Regions from separate parts of the Homo sapiens genome. Here region 2 is linked to region 1. Evidence: promoter capture Hi-C in 16 types of primary human blood cells and fetal thymus (Javierre and others, 2016). All regions are on one chromosome and are shown on one strand. Each heading gives the region's core, a stretch centred on a gene start or on the middle of the fragment in contact. The rest is flanking DNA. Distances are from core to core; before and after follow the strand shown.

Region 1 (7,891 bases), core at 2,541-5,040:
GTGGTACCTTACTTCTCCAACAAGGATGAATATTGAAATGTGGATCCCAAGGCCCAACTCCAGATTTTCTGAATCCCTGATAGTGGGACTTGGAATTTGTCTATTGTTTCAAAGTTTCTCAAGGAATTCATATGATCAACCAGGTTCAGAAATCACTGGATCTTATTGCCGAAGTTTGAGAATTAAAGTTTGGGCCTTACTGCGGCTCCACAGAAAGGGCAAATGAAGTATCATGGACAGAACTGATACGTTCCCAGTTAGTTTCCCCTCTCAGAAGCTAACAGGCAGCAATACAGCAGAAATTAGTGACTTATGTCTTGTGCTCTGAAGTCAGGCAGAATTTCACAGAGTCCCAGCAGTGTCACTGACGAGATTTGTTTCTTGGGGCAAGTTGCCTGATGCTTTCAAAGCCATATTCCTTTTATATAAAATGAGATAATATTCTTTGTCTCATAGGGGTGTTTTAAAGATTAAATAAAAATAACATGTTCTATCCTACATGGCACAATGCCTGACACCTAAGAAGCAAAGGATACATCTTACCTTTATTGAAGCAATCAGAAAGTATGAAATCATGAAGGAGATAAGAGTTCTGATTGGCAGTGTATCTTATTTTCCCAGGTTCATTTATTTATCTTAAACTATTCTTGTTGGAGAATAACTCCCAAGCCCCCTACTTAAGCTGTGAGTAATCTCACACTTTATAATGATGTTCTTTCCATGAGAAAAAAAAATGTTCTTAAGTTTTCTGGAGAAAATATATCTGCACTATTTCTACTGAAAAATCTAACAACTGGACTCTGCTCCTCTGCATCAATTCTAGAGTGTATATGCCACAAATAAAGTGTTCTAGCTCAAGAAGATTGAAAGTAAATATGGTATAGTATTTTAAAATAAGAATTTTGCAAATACATGGTATGATTGTGTCATATTACTAGCAATCATATGATACGCAATGCAAAGTACAGTTCATAGACTTAAATTTAATTCTAATAAGTAAACTGATTTTGCCTTGCTGGGGAAAAGTTAAAGCACTAATCCAATTGCTAATGCAGTCTTGTCTACTTCTTTGGTACCTAGTGACAAGTCTAAATAATGTATATATTTTTATTTACATATTCAGTAATACAATTCTCTGCTCAATGAGTGATGTTCTTCTGCCACTTGGTGGTGCTTGCCAGTTTCAGAATTTGTTTCTTGGTGGCACTATAACACTAAGTACAGAGTAAGTGCAACAAAATTGCAGCATTCCCATTGAAAAGGCTTTGCTTCAAACTGTTTAATAATTTAAAGGACCTCTGTGGAAGCAACCGCATTTGTTAACCAGTTACAACCAGTAATTAACTCCTTTGGAGTTTTAACTTACTTTTGGCAAAACGTCTTAGGAAGAGCATATATTATTAGAAAGTATGCCAAAAATTTACTTAGCAGAAAATTCAAAAACAGTTTTCCTCTGCTAAGAGGTTCTCTAAAATTCTACTTACATAGCCAAACTCTGAAATCCTAGCAGGTCCTGTTTCATTATCATAATTACTGCATAAACACTTTTAAGGACTTTGCCTTTAGTTTCAAGCATGACTTATTTTCATAAGCCTGATTAGTTACCACACCAGCCTTGCTATGGAAAATGACATGTTCTCATTCTCTGCTGTAGAGTTGTTAAATCTTGATCTATATTTATGTTGCCTTCTCTGCTGAAAGCCTGTAGCGAAAGAAATTTCTAATTCCTTGTTTTGCAATATTAGTTGGCAGCTCTATCTAATGGGTATTCTGTTTCCTTAAAGAATTTAGCTGCTCTGTCTAGAAGCCGATTTTCTGATGCCTCCAACGTCTGGTCTAATTGATCTGTTTTAATGGAGTCTTCGTCGGTGAGGAGCGAGATGCCACCGACTAGAATGCTGGGATCTGCTGCTTAATTGCCAGGAGTGAGAGACACTGAGATTCAGAAATCTTTGGAGGTGGGAGGGGAGAGGGACAGTCTCGGACGGAGGCGGAGATGTAAGATAAAGGGATGGATTTCACACAGGAAAAAAAAAAAGATTTCGTTGAGGCACTGAGGTGCTGCACGATCACATCTCTCAAAGGAGAAGTTAAAAAGCAAGGAAGTGGGAGGAGGTTGGAGGTTAAAGTACTTAAAAGGATTACTCGGGTACAATTTGTTTTTCTGCTGGTGTCTGCAAAGGATAGATAGTCCCGTTTTCAAAGTATATGAATGCCTCTTTTAAGTGATTGGGAATGGACACTAATTGCCTGTTAAATGTTATCAAATGCTCTCCTAAATTCAGGGGACACAGAAAGAGGGGCACAAAAGGAGAATTTAAATAGAAAAAGGGAGGATCCGGAGGCTTTTGAAAGCGGGGGGAGAAGAAGGAGGAGGGATAACAGAGAGGAATAGAGAAGGAGAGCGGAGAGAAGATAAACAAAAACAAAAACAGGAATCACTGAATAATCACACACCAAAAAGAAAGCTCTTCCCTATGGGGCATCCAAAACACTGAGACTGCAATAGTGACCCCGGTCATGGAAGAAAGATGTTCCTCTCCACCCTTGTCCCCGAAAGCTCTTGGTCCCGTTACTGGCGACTAAAATTCCATTAGGCTAAAGAGTGTGTCTAACTGCCTGAAGAATGCAGCAGACGGAAGGCGGGTCCCGCTATGCCGTTTGCCCTTCCCGCTGGAGAGAATGAAAGAAACGCGCAGAGCCAGAGACTCCTGCCGAGTTAGACCTTCTCTCGTCGCCCCAGGTCACCGGCCATCCGGCAAAGACCCGAGTAAGGAACGCAGGGTCACTGCCTGGGCCAACAAATGGAGCCCGCTCTCCCCTTCCCGGACGCCGCTGCCCGGCCGATGCTCCCGGCAACCCACCCGCGGCGTATGCAGAGGAGCCTTTCTCTTTCTCTCAGACCACTTGTCCCGACCAATCTGACCTTCCAAACACATCTGACCGCACCTCCCAGGTGGACACACTAATAGGCTACGGGCTGGAGAGGAGCGGGTGATGAGGAGAGGGATTCAAACCTGCGAACGCTTGGGCTGGGTCGGAGCTGCGGGGGGCCTGGGAGGAGAGAGGGGAGAAGAGAGAAGGAAGGAGAGCGCCTGCCGGGATGGCTGAGCTGCCTCGGCGAGCAGCCTTGGGGTTGCACGCTCTTGTGGGAGATGCTGCTGTTGCTTCCAGGTCGGCAAGAGCGGTTCTAACACCATCGCCTCTCACCCTCTTTCCTGTAAATCCCTAGAGAAACGTCCCTGGCCTCTCCGCCGCGACATTCCCAGCCTGCATCCCCCTACAGCCTAGGCGGCGCGCTCCCGCACGCTGGAGCGCCGGTCGCCAGCAGGACGCCCTCTCCCGCGCCGACTCGCCCCTCTCTGCCCTGCTGCTGCTGCTCCTCTGACACCTCCGCCCCCACCATCTCCAGCTCGGAGAGACGCCACCCAGCCGCGGCCCGCACTCGCGGCCCGGGGTCACGCGCGGAAGAGGGGCGCTAGTCCGGACCCCGCCTTCGGTAGGGGGCGTCCTGGAGCGGAGAGTGAGGCGAATGGTATATGAGTGTGCGGGTAGCCCACCCTGAAGCCCGAGCTTCTCATTTGAGCCATCCCCGCCTAGCCCCACTCGGGCCAGCGCCTGGCGAGCGAGCCCATCTGTGGCTTCCGCGGCCGCCTCCTCCTTGCATCCTTGCACCTCCTCGTCGACCCCTCCCTCCCGGGACCTGCATCCTGCTCCACCAATCAGAGCCCGACTGCCTCTTCCCACGTGACCCCGGGCGGGCTGAGGACCTGCTGCTTCCCAAACGCCAGAGGGATGCGGGCGGCAGAGCTCGAGAGGCGGCTGCCGGGCTGCGGGGCGCCTTGACTCTCCCTCCACCCTGCCTCCTCGGGCTCCACTCGTCTGCCCCTGGACTCCCGTCTCCTCCTGTCCTCCGGCTTCCCAGAGCTCCCTCCTTATGGCAGCAGCTTCCCGCGTCTCCGGCGCAGCTTCTCAGCGGACGACCCTCTCGCTCCGGGGCTGAGCCCAGTCCCTGGATGTTGCTGAAACTCTCGAGATCATGCGCGGGTTTGGCTGCTGCTTCCCCGCCGGGTGCCACTGCCACCGCCGCCGCCTCTGCTGCCGCCGTCCGCGGGATGCTCAGTAGCCCGCTGCCCGGCCCCCGCGATCCTGTGTTCCTCGGAAGCCGTTTGCTGCTGCAGAGTTGCACGAACTAGTCATGGTGCTGTGGGAGTCCCCGCGGCAGTGCAGCAGCTGGACACTTTGCGAGGGCTTTTGCTGGCTGCTGCTGCTGCCCGTCATGCTACTCATCGTAGCCCGCCCGGTGAAGCTCGCTGCTTTCCCTACCTCCTTAAGTGACTGCCAAACGCCCACCGGCTGGAATTGCTCTGGTAAGTCCAGAACCCCCGTCCCCGACCCTTTAACTCCGCAGAAGAACACGCGTATCCAGCACAGACCAGCCTACCCTAGCGCGCCTCCTCAGCCCCTCACCTCCTACTGCCCTAGACCCCTAATACCACCCACCTCTATCCAGAGAAACAAGGGGAACTGTTGCAGGCCCGGGGGTGAGGGGTGGTTCTGGGATGGGCAGAAAGTGCAGGTGTAGCAGGAAACCTTTGCATGCTTGCGCTTACATTGGAGCTGCGAGGATTTTGAGAAATATTAAACGGGATGGTTTTCTGGGTTCACTGTTTTGAAAGAGCACCAATCCTAGGGGAAACACTGAAACAGAAGCTTTGTCATCATTAAAGAAAAAAGTCTTACTAGGATGAGGAAGAAATAACTTTATGAGAAAGAATGAGCGAGAAAGCAATAAATCAAATGGTGACTGCAGGGGAATCGCTGATTCCTGGCAAAGGTGCCATGAGGTCGCACTGGTCTCCCGTTGAAGACCAGGTCACACAGATTCTAGAGGAGCTGGGTTTCAATAGAATTTCTCTCTCTCTCTCTCTCTCTCTCTCTCTCTCTCTCTCTCTCTCTCTATCTATCTATCTCTCTCTCTCTCTCATTCCCTTCTCTCCTAGGCGGCAAAAGACATTGGTTTTGCAGTCCAGATATGCCCCTCTCTTTGCTTCCCTAAGCTTCAAGGTAGTACAGGGGAGTTGAGAAAAAGAACACTTTGCGGGTCTCCCAGGCCGGAGTGGGCATGACTGAGGCTGGTCAGGCTCCATGTAGGCGAGCCGAGGGCGGAACCGACTTCAGTGGGCGCTGACTCCTCCATTTCTGGACAGGCTTCTGTGGAGTGGGTCAGGCACTCTTCTTGCTCGCTCGGGTTCCTTCAGATTCTGACGGCGAACGCTTGGCAGGCTTCGCTCTGCTGAAGCTTCCTAATTAAATAGGGCCAGAGGATGGGAGTTGCTGCACTCCTAGCTGGCATAGCATTTCGGTTTGACAGCCTGTAGTATACTGGGCAGAATTGTGGTGTAATTTCCTTGGCATTTTAAACTCCGTTAACATGCCTGGGTATTGTCCCCTAGGTGTGGTCTGTTCTAGTTTTAGCAAGTGTGTATGTAATTTTTCATCTTCTGTGAATATAATTTTGCTGTAGTTAAATCTGGCTCTGAATAAAGTGTCTTTCAAAGATGTATATAAGCTGAAGTGTATGTAACTTTAGAGAGGAGGGAATGACCAACTGTAACTCAGGGTGAAAGCCTGTATAGTTCCTAGTTATTACTGATGTAAATGCCAAAAGGAAAATTATTATGCATCATTCTAATTTATCCTTTACAAAGACAAGTTGAGATATGCAACCCTATTAGATTTGGGTCAATAGATTGTTCTCTTTTTTGGCAGTTTCTAAATTTGGCATTTTAATAAAACTCAACATGTTTCTATAACTTCTTGATTCATGCGTACATGTGTGTTGTTTTTGAAAGAATAAGTTTCACTTTGCTATTGCCTAATCACTTTTTAGATGCTTTATTATGGTAATAATTATGAGCCTGCAAAAACAATTTTTGGAAATGTTGATGGCTTTGTAGTCCAACACAGACTGGTTTGCTTCATTCCTAGCCCTTGCATTGTTTTAGGAAATAACTAACTTAAATGTGAAGTTGACATTTGCAATCAAGAAATTACATATTTACCAGATATTTTAAAGGGGACTGCATAAACTAAAGAGAATAAACTGGTTTTGCAGATAGGTTGTCAAGAACTTGGCACCCCGCTTCCACCCCTGTTAACTTAGAGGTGATCAATCTTCATTTGAGCCAAACAGACCATCACAGAAAACACTGTGCCTGTTTATCTTTATTATTGAGGCTTTGTTTCCTCTTTGTCTGGATACATTTCAAATAAGGGGTTGTTTCAGTCGTTGAAGCAAAAGAACAATTAAAGATGGGGAAATGGTAAAAGGGTATTCAGAGATCATCACTAGCTCTTTTCCAAAATGTGGAGTTTTGTGGTCATAAATATTGTCCACCTAATGAGCAAAAAATAAAAATAAAAAAAAAACAGGAAGCAAATGTTAAGCTTTCATTCACCACTGTCAGTATTAACGCAAGCTTTAAAAAATAGCACTATCAGAAAAGGATACTAAAGGAGAATTGACTAGAAAAGAATTGTGGAAAATGGAAACGAATATTGATCACTTAACTAGATTTTGAGGTTATCAGTAGACAGTGACCTTGCAGTACAGCTATAGTTGTTGGATTTAAAATTTAGGACAAGTATTTTAAAGCTTCAAAGTAGTGCTTTTTTTTGTTAAAAATCTGTAAGATGTTTTAATGACTGGAGTGTTCTCTTTGAATTTGAGGTTATGATGACAGAGAAAATGATCTCTTCCTCTGTGACACCAACACCTGTAAATTTGATGGGGAATGTTTAAGAATTGGAGACACTGTGACTTGCGTCTGTCAGTTCAAGGTAAGAAGTCTTATATTTGCATCTTCTAATTCATTAATGAGACTGCAAAGCAGGAATCTTCCTTTACAGCCTATCACTTGGAAATTTATAGCTATGCAAGCTAAGAGGGAAGCTGGCACCAAGCAAAAGTACTAGCAAGAGAGCCAACTGATGTCAAGAAGACATACGCTTTTTGGAGAAATGTATATGCCAAAGTTATAAATGCTGCTGGAGGTAGAAAGCTTCAGGTTGTGCTTTTGGGATGTCAAAGGAAAATTATGTTTCTCTGACCCTTCTAGCATCACTTTAAAAGTGAATTGACTGGGGATAATAGTCAAAATAGGGGGTAAGAAGTGTGGACTTATTCTTTTGTTCTTTTTGATTGGGGCTATCATCTTTTTATCTTATTGCTATCTGTTTTAATGGTCTTGGCCTTTATTATCCTTGCAACCTGACTAGGTTTTTAAGGTAACTCCTTATTAGTGTAACCTCAACACTTTGTTCTAATTTGGAAATCATGGAACTTATTAATTAGTGTATATCAGCTTTTTCATAGATACCACACTCAATTAGAACTGAATCCCCTAGGAATCCAGAAGAGCATTTAGATCCACAAGTCATTTTATGAACATCAGGAAATGTACTTTTTCTTGTGTTAATTTCTTTTAACTAACAAAGAGAGAAAGAAGTTGCACTACTGGCATGATCAAAACTGGGTTATTAGTATCTATTAAAGATAGAACTTTTAGTGTCATTAGTATAGTCATTAGCTAACAAATGCTTTCCACCATGTAAGTTATAAAACTTTTCCTCTCAAAGTGTTCATATAATCATGCAGAACTTCAAGTAGCATGGATGTTGTACTAATAGCCTATATTTGCCCTTGAGTATTTTAAGTTACTTTTAAAAATACTTTTAAAATCTGACAATATGACTCAACCAGGAAATATGCACATAAACAAAACTGTATGTGAGATAATGAAAACTTTTCTAAGATTGTAAGAATAAAAATGATATAGAACAAATAAAAACAATAAACTCAAATTTAGACCTAGATATCTGGTTAATA
Region 2 (7,891 bases), core at 1,353-3,852, 1.4 Mb before region 1:
GCCCAGTCTCTCATCTTCTTACGCAAAAGGAAGGAGTCACTTTTATTGCTGCAAGATTCACTGCCTAAGATTGGAAAAGGGATGGTGCAAGCATTCTTACAGCTGTGCCAGCTGGTGTCTCCCTAGGTCATGTGCCATCCTACTACACTGGCTTTAAGCCAAGCCTAGCATTAGGAGTTGCCTAGGTACCACAGTCCTTGTGTGTTAGACTGCTTTTCAAGTTTACCTAGGAGCCCAGAGCCTACGGTGGCAAGGCTCGCCAAGAAACTCAAGTTCTGACTGCTGGCACAAGCGGTTCCACTCTGGCTAGAGCTGGTCCAAATACTCCCTCCATGCATGAGTGCCAGCTGAGCCCAGCATGGCTTTATTCTTCACTGTGACAGTGCAGCTCTGAGTTCAATAAAGTCCCCCAGTCACGGTCCTCTCCCTCCCCAAAATGTGAAGTTTCTTTCTCAGGGCTACTTGGCTGCTACTGGGGGATGAGAGAAGTGTGGCGTCAGTGATTCAAACCTGTCTCTCCTACCCTCCTTAATGCCTCTTTTAGCAATATGAAGTTCAAAATAGTTACTGTGTTTGTTCACCTAATTTTTGGTTCTTGTGACAATGTTTTCTAAATGCAGATAGTGGTTAAAACTTGGTGTTCCATCAGGGGGACAAATGGTGTAGGCTTCTCTTTTGCCATCTTGCTCTACACCTTGGTTTTCACTTTTGAGTACCATTTCCCTGAGCCATTTGGCCGGGTAAACCGTGACCTCCCCTATGGCTTTACCATTGGTAAAGACGCTAACTTGATTATCTTCTGCCACTCTTCTTTCCCAACCTTCCAGTTGTTTCAAACCCAGAAATATTGATATTATTGACATCTTAAATATCATAAATGGCATAGTGTGTCATAATTGCTCTCAGATTTTTTCTTATTCAAATTCTTATTCACTCCCACAGTGCCATTGTTCCAATGGGTCTTTTTTTTTTATGTTAGGATCACATAAATCTACCTTTTTTTAAAATTTTTTTTTAGAGACGGAGTCTTACACTGTTGCCCAGGCTGGAGTGCAGTGGCACAATCTCGGCTCACTGCAAGCTCCGCCTCCCGGGTTCACGCCATTCTCCTGCCTCAGCCTCCCGAGTAGCTGGGACTACAGGCGCCTGCCACCATGCCCGGCTAATTTTTTGTATTTTTAGTAGAGACGGAGTTTCACCGTGTTAGCCAGGATGGTCTTGATCTGACCTCGTGATCCGCCCGCCTCGGCATCCCAAAGTGCTGGGATTACAGGCATGAGCTACCGCGCCCGGCCACATAAATCTACCTTTAAAATCATATGAAAACTCCAGAAAGGATGATGTAGAAATCAATTTCCTAATTAAAATTTGTAGCTGAATGAGATCTTCCATGGCCTGGTTCCATGACTATATATGTATTTATTACACACCATTTTCCCTTCTCCATTTTCATTCTCCGTACAGCAGCTGTATTACTCTGTTTTCATGCTGCTGATAAAAACGTACCTGAGACTGGGCAATTTAGAAACCAAAAAAGGTTTAATGGACTCACAGTTCCATGTAGCTGAGGAGGCCTCACAATCATGGCAAAAGGCGAAAGGGAGGTCTTAGCAGCAGACAAGAGAGAATGAGAATCAAGTGAAAAGGGACACTTCTTAAAAAACCATCAGATCTCGTGAGACTTATTCACTACTACGAGAACAGTATGGGGTGAACTGCCTCGATGATTCAATTGTCTCCCACTGGATCCCTCCCACAACATGTAGGAATTATGGGAGCTACAATTCAAGATGAGATGAGATTTGGGTGGGAACACAGCCAAAGCATATCAGCAGCCAAACCGTATCAGCAGCCAAATGAATGTTTAATGCAAATTTGATCATCTGACACCCTGGCTGAAAGGCACTTCCAGTTTTCCGTTGCGCCTGAGATAAAGACTGAAAACAACTCTGATTACAAAATGCTAAATGAACTGGTCACAGAGAATCTCTGTAGGATCACCCAGTGCAATCTACCCACTTGTTTCTGTGGTCCATTTATACTCATCTTCTCTCAATTTTCCAACTTCCCTGTGCAACTTTTACCACAGAAATTCTGCTTCTGTGGTTCTTCTCCCAAGAAAAATTCTGTATTTCCTACCCCATATACCCTACTCCTATGTCACCTCTTTAACAATAAATTTCAATAAATATATTACTTCTCTAGGTTTATGATGAGCCATGGCACACTGTGGCCTTCCTGTTTTGTTTTGTTTTTTTTTTTTTGTGGTGTGTTTGTACATATTCAAACATTTCTGCTTCGCAGTTAAATAATGTGTAGATATGCTATGATATTGATATATTATATATATATATATGCATTTATAGAGTGGGCATATATATAACATCATTGCTATTTGTTTTTCTTATTCATTTATTTATTTTGTCATCCCCAGGAAACTGTAAGCTTCATGAGAACAGGGAACATACATTAGTTAAGTTAGATTTTCTCAGCATTTTATTGCAAGTACCAAACAGAATGTCTAAAGCTATGAGTTCCTGTTGCATCTGGAATAAGAGAATAAATTGCCTTACCTATTTTACATTCTTTATTACTCTAAAGATAATTTTGTGTGTATGTGTCTGCATACACGGAAGAGTTTTGATGATTTAGACAACCTGCAAATGCTTAAAAAATTAATGAGGGAATAAAATAGATGCCAGATGTTTCTTCCATTTGGCCACTGTTTGGATCCTGAAAAAAAAATTAGTATAAGCTTTTGTGTTTTCTTACTCTATAGTTTTACTTTTAACTTTTCTTCAAGAAACTATTCCAAAAAGAGCATGATAAATCTAAAGACATCCAGTCCCATGGGGGAAGAAAACAATATTAAATTGAATTAAAAGTTAATGAAATATTTTACTACTGCATTTTACCACAGCATTTGCAAGTTGTATCTGAGCATCCTAATAATTTTAAAACCACTATCCTCATCTCAATCGTGAAAGGCTGGGAAAAAGTTCTCATTTTATGATCCAGAAAGTCACTATGCAAAAGAAGAGAAATTAAGTTATAAAAAGAAGATACTGTATAACTTGCCTAATGGCCTGTAATCTGCTAAAAGTACAGCTGCAGTAGGCTGTTTAACAGGTGCTATGATTATGGAGCATAGCAAACATGTTAGGCTTTGTAGTGCATTTAATACCTTATAAACAATTGGACTAATTTGGACAAGGCTAACAGATTAGTTCAAATGACACTCTTGTAAAAGGTCTGTGATTATGTTGCACAAATTTGACTGAAATTTTAAACTTAGCAAGGTACTCAGCTTTAAAATGACTAGAATACTATTTTTTAATATTCCAGCACTGATTTCTAATGTTATTCCCTTCATATATAACACCGTACTTTTAAAAGGCAATAATCATTTTGAAGGTATTCTCACAGTTTCCAACATTACAAAACCATGTATTAGAATGTTCCAATAGTTCTACCACAATAGCCCATGTACTTTTTGAAAATGGGCATAAATCCCTGCCGTGAAACCATCAGAGCAAATGATTTGGGGTTTTGCTGCCAAGCAATTAACCATACATGTGTTATTTAAGCACCTCTGAGTAAAGCGATACGATTTTATATGTAGATTGAAAGCCAATCACTTAATAATTGAAGGAAGCTTATCTGTAATGACTGACTTAATGGCAGAACATGTGAACCAAAGGAAGGTATAGCTTGCTTAATGTCAAAAAGAGAAAAAAAGAAAAAAGAAGAAATAAAAGTAACATATATAACAAAACCAAGGTACATTTTAAAAATTCACTAAACTTTAAGAATAAAGAACGGATACAAAGGTCATGTAGGAAAAACAAGAAAAATAATGTCTTCCGGCATGGGCAATAATACAGGAGCCACTCTATTGATAATTTCAAGAGAGGTATTAGCTTGATCAGTCTCCACTCAGAAGGTAGCACCTGTCCACAGGAACACATTTAAGAATTACTAGGCTGGGCGCGGTGGCTCAGGCCTGTAATCCCAGCACTTTAGGAGGCCAAGGCAGGCGGATCACGAAGTCAGGAGATCAAGACCATCCTGGCTAACACGGTGAAACCCCGTCTCTACTAAAAATACAAAAAGTAGCCGGGTGTGGTGGCGGGCACCTGCAGTCCCAGCTACTCGGGAGGCTGAGGCAAGAGAATGGTGTGAACCCAGGAGGCAGAGCTTGCAGTGAGCCGAGATCACGCCACTGCACTCCATCCTGGGTGACAGAGCGAGACTCCATCTCAAAAAAAAAAAAAAAAGTGCATTTCTCAGATGATAAGTGATGTTAAGCATCTTTTAATATGTTTGCTGGCCACTTGTATGTCTTCCTTTGTAAAATGTCTGTTCATGTCCTTTGCCCACTTTTTAATGAAGTTTTTGTTTTTTTTGTTGTTGAGTAGTTTGAGTTCCCAGTAAATTCTGGATATTAACACTCTGTTGGAGGTACCGTTTGCAAATATGTTCTCACATGTGTAGGCTGTCTGTTTACTTTGTTGACTATTTCTTTTGCATGCTTAGTTTATTTAAATCCCAATTGTTTATTTTTGTTTTCGTTGTGTGTCCTTCTGAGAACTTATTCATAAATTGTTTGCCTAGAGAAATGGCCATAGTTTTTCCTAGGTTTTCTACTAGAAATTTTATCTTTAAACTTTAATTCATCTTGAGTTAGTTTGTATATGGTGTAAGATAGGAGTCCAGCTTCATTCCTCAGCATGTGAGTATCCGTTTTTTCCACCACCATTTATTTTATAGCATGTTCTTTTACTAGTGCGTATTTTCATGGACTTTGTCAAAAATCATATGGTTGTAGATATGTCTTTATTTCTAGTTCTCTATTCTGTTCCATTAATTGATGTGTCTATTTTTATACCAGTACTGTGCTGTTTTGGTTACTATAACCTTATAATATTATTTGAAGTCAGGTAATGTGATGCCTAGAGCTTTTTTCATTTTGCTTGAGATTACTTTGACTATTTGGGCTTTTTTTCTTTGCAGATGAATTTTTTGGATTGTTTTACATAATTCTCTGGAGAATGACCTTGGTACTTTGACAGGAATTGCATTGAACCTGTAGGTTGCTTTGGCAGTACAATTTAATGATACTGATTCTTCTGATCCATGAGCATTACATACTTTTTCCATTAATTTGTGTCATATATGATTTATTTAATCAATGTTTTGTAGTTCTCCTTGTAGAGATCTGTCATTTTCTTGGTTAAATATATTCCTAGGTATAATTTTTAGCAAATTTTAAATGGGATTGAGTTCTTGTTTTGGTTCTCAGCTTGACTGGTATTGGTGTATAGAAATGCTACTGATTTTTGTATGTTGATTTTATATCCTGAAAATTTACTGAAGTAATTTATCAAATCTAAAAGTCTTTTGCAGAAGTCTTTAGAGTTTACTAGGTATAAGAGTATATCAACAGCGGACAGAGATAATTTGACTTTCTCTTTTCCAATTTAAATGTTTTTCATCTTTTCCTTTTGCTTGATTGCCATAGCTAGAACTTCCAGTACTATGTTGAATAGCAGTGGTGAAAGTAGGTATCCTTGTCTTGTTCCATTTCTTAGGGGAAGTGCTTTTCCCCATTCTGTTTAATGTTGCCTGTGGGTTTGTTATACATGGCTTTTATTATTTTAAGTATGTTCTTTCTATTCCTAGTTTGGCAAGGGTTTTTGTCATGAAAAAAATGACAAATTTTATTAAATGTTTTTTTCTCAATCTTTTGAGATGATTCTGTGGTTTTTGTTTTTAATTCTTTTATATGGTAAATCACTGATATGGTTTGAATCCTGTGTCCCCACCCAAATCTCATGTTGAAATGTAATCCCCAATCCCCAACAGGAGGTTGGGAGGTGATTGGATCACGAGGGTAGTTTCTCATAAATCATTTAGCACCATCTTCTTTGGTCACCATAGTAAGTGAGTTATCATGAGATCTGGTCATTTAAAAGTGTGTAGCACCTTCTCTCTCTATTTAAAATTTGCTAAAAATTATACCTAGGAATATATTTAACCAAGAAAATGACAGATCTCTACAAAGAGAACTACAAAACATTGATTAAATAAATCATATATGACACAAACTAGTGGAAAAAGTATCTCATGATCATGGATCAGAAGAATCAGTATCTTTAAATTGTACTGCCCAAAGCGATCCACAGGTTCGATGCAATTCCTATCAAACTACCAAGGTGATTCTTCAGAGAATTATGTAAAACAATCCTAAATGGGGTTTCACCATGTTAGCCAGGATGGTCTCAATCTCCTGACCTCATGATCCGCCCACCTTGGCCTCCCAAAGTGCTGGTATTACTGGCATAGCCACCACACCTGGCCGCCACACTCTTAAACAACTAAATCTCACAAGAACGCACTATCATGAGAACAGTACCAAGTGGGTGGTGCTAAACCATTTATGAGAACCCACCCCTATGATCAAATCACCTCCCACCAGGCCCCTGCTCTGACACTGAGGATTACAATTCTACATGAGATTTGGTGGGGGCACTGATCCAAACCATATCAGGCGGGTTTTTTTGTATGCAGCTTATGTTTAAAAAGTTTTTATATTTTTATCCATTCTGCCAACTGACATATTTTAAGTGGAGCATATAGCCCTTTACCTTTAAAGTTAATATTGATATGAGAGGTTTTCTTCTTGCCATAATGTTATTACATATTTGCTTTGCAGTCTCAATTGTGTAATTACTTTATGTGACCTGCACGTTTTTATGATGACAAGTATACCCCTTCCATTTCCATTTTTAACTCGTTTGAGCATTTCTTTTAGGACTGATCTAGTGGTGACAAATTCCCTTGGTGTTTTCTTGACTCGGAGCAACTTTATTTTTCCTTCATTTAGGAAACTTAGTTTAGCAAGATACAAAATTCTTGGCTTGCACTTTTTCTTCTTTAAAAAGACTGTAAATGGGACCCTAATGTCTTCTCATTTGTAATGTTTCTGCTGATATGTCTGCTGTTAGTCTGATGGTATTTCCTTCATAGGTGATTAGATGTTTCTCTCTTGCCCATTTTAGAATTTTTTTCTATCTTGTTGACTTTGTATAGTCTGACGACTATATTCCTTGATGAGTTCCTTCTTGCAATGTATCTCCCAAGAATTCTTTAAATATATTGTATCTGGATGTCTAGAACTTTAACAAGACCAGAAAAGTTTTTCTCAATTATTCCCTAGAATATATTTTCCATATGTTTTATTTTACAATTTTTCTGTTATCTCTGGAATAGTTACTACTTATAGTTTTGAAGGCTTTACATAATCCAATATTTATCAAAAGCTTTTTTTAAAATCTCTTTTGAATTTTTGTTCAAATAGGTTAATTTGAAAGACCTGCCATCTAGTTCTAAAATCTTTTATTTTGCTTATACTAGCCTATTGTTAAAGCTTACAGCTATATTTTGTAATTCTGTCAACACATCTTTTTTTCAGAAGTTTTATAAAACCATATATGTCTCTTCTTTCATATTCTGAATTGTTTTATGATTTATTTGTATTGGCTTTCAATTTTCTTTTGGGTCTCATTAAATTTCTTTAAAATAAACATTTTGAATTCTTTATTTGGTATTTCAAAGATTTCATTTTAATTAGGATCCATTGCTGGGCAGTTAGTGTTTTAACACTCTGTGTTTTCATTCTTCCAGGATTATCTCTCTGGTTCCTTCTTATCTGATTAGCTATCTCCTCTTCTCATTTTTGGATTTGCTTTCATTTGAGTAAGATTTTCCCCCTTGAGGGTGTGGCTATAATATGCATTGTGTAGAGTTCTTTGGCTTTGGTTCCAGGTGCTTTAGTGGCAAAGACTATGTAAGTTTCTTGGTTATAGATATCTTTTGTATGGTGACTTTC

The links. Contacts are between HindIII fragments. The CHiCAGO score rates a contact against its expected background, and 5 or more counts as called.
Region 2: a contact is called between a fragment that was not itself captured here and the fragment with the promoter of TMEFF2 in region 1, in 1 of 17 cell types (M1 macrophages). The highest score is 7.2, in M1 macrophages.

Annotation. Positions count from the first base shown.
Region 1 is chr2:192,190,832-192,198,722 of GRCh38, reverse strand. TMEFF2 (transmembrane protein with EGF like and two follistatin like domains 2) reads left to right here and starts at 3,790. Exons shown (of 10, transcript NM_016192.4): 1 at 3,790-4,370; 2 at 6,734-6,843. The coding sequence starts at 4,199. RefSeq lists an enhancer at 3,269-3,844. The HindIII fragment of the contact is 4,792 bases long and covers 1-4,715 here.
Region 2 is chr2:193,584,979-193,592,869 of GRCh38, reverse strand. No RefSeq gene overlaps it. Among named protein-coding and RNA genes, the nearest start is that of LINC01821, 760 kb to the left of the region's middle. The HindIII fragment of the contact is 310 bases long and covers 2,448-2,757 here.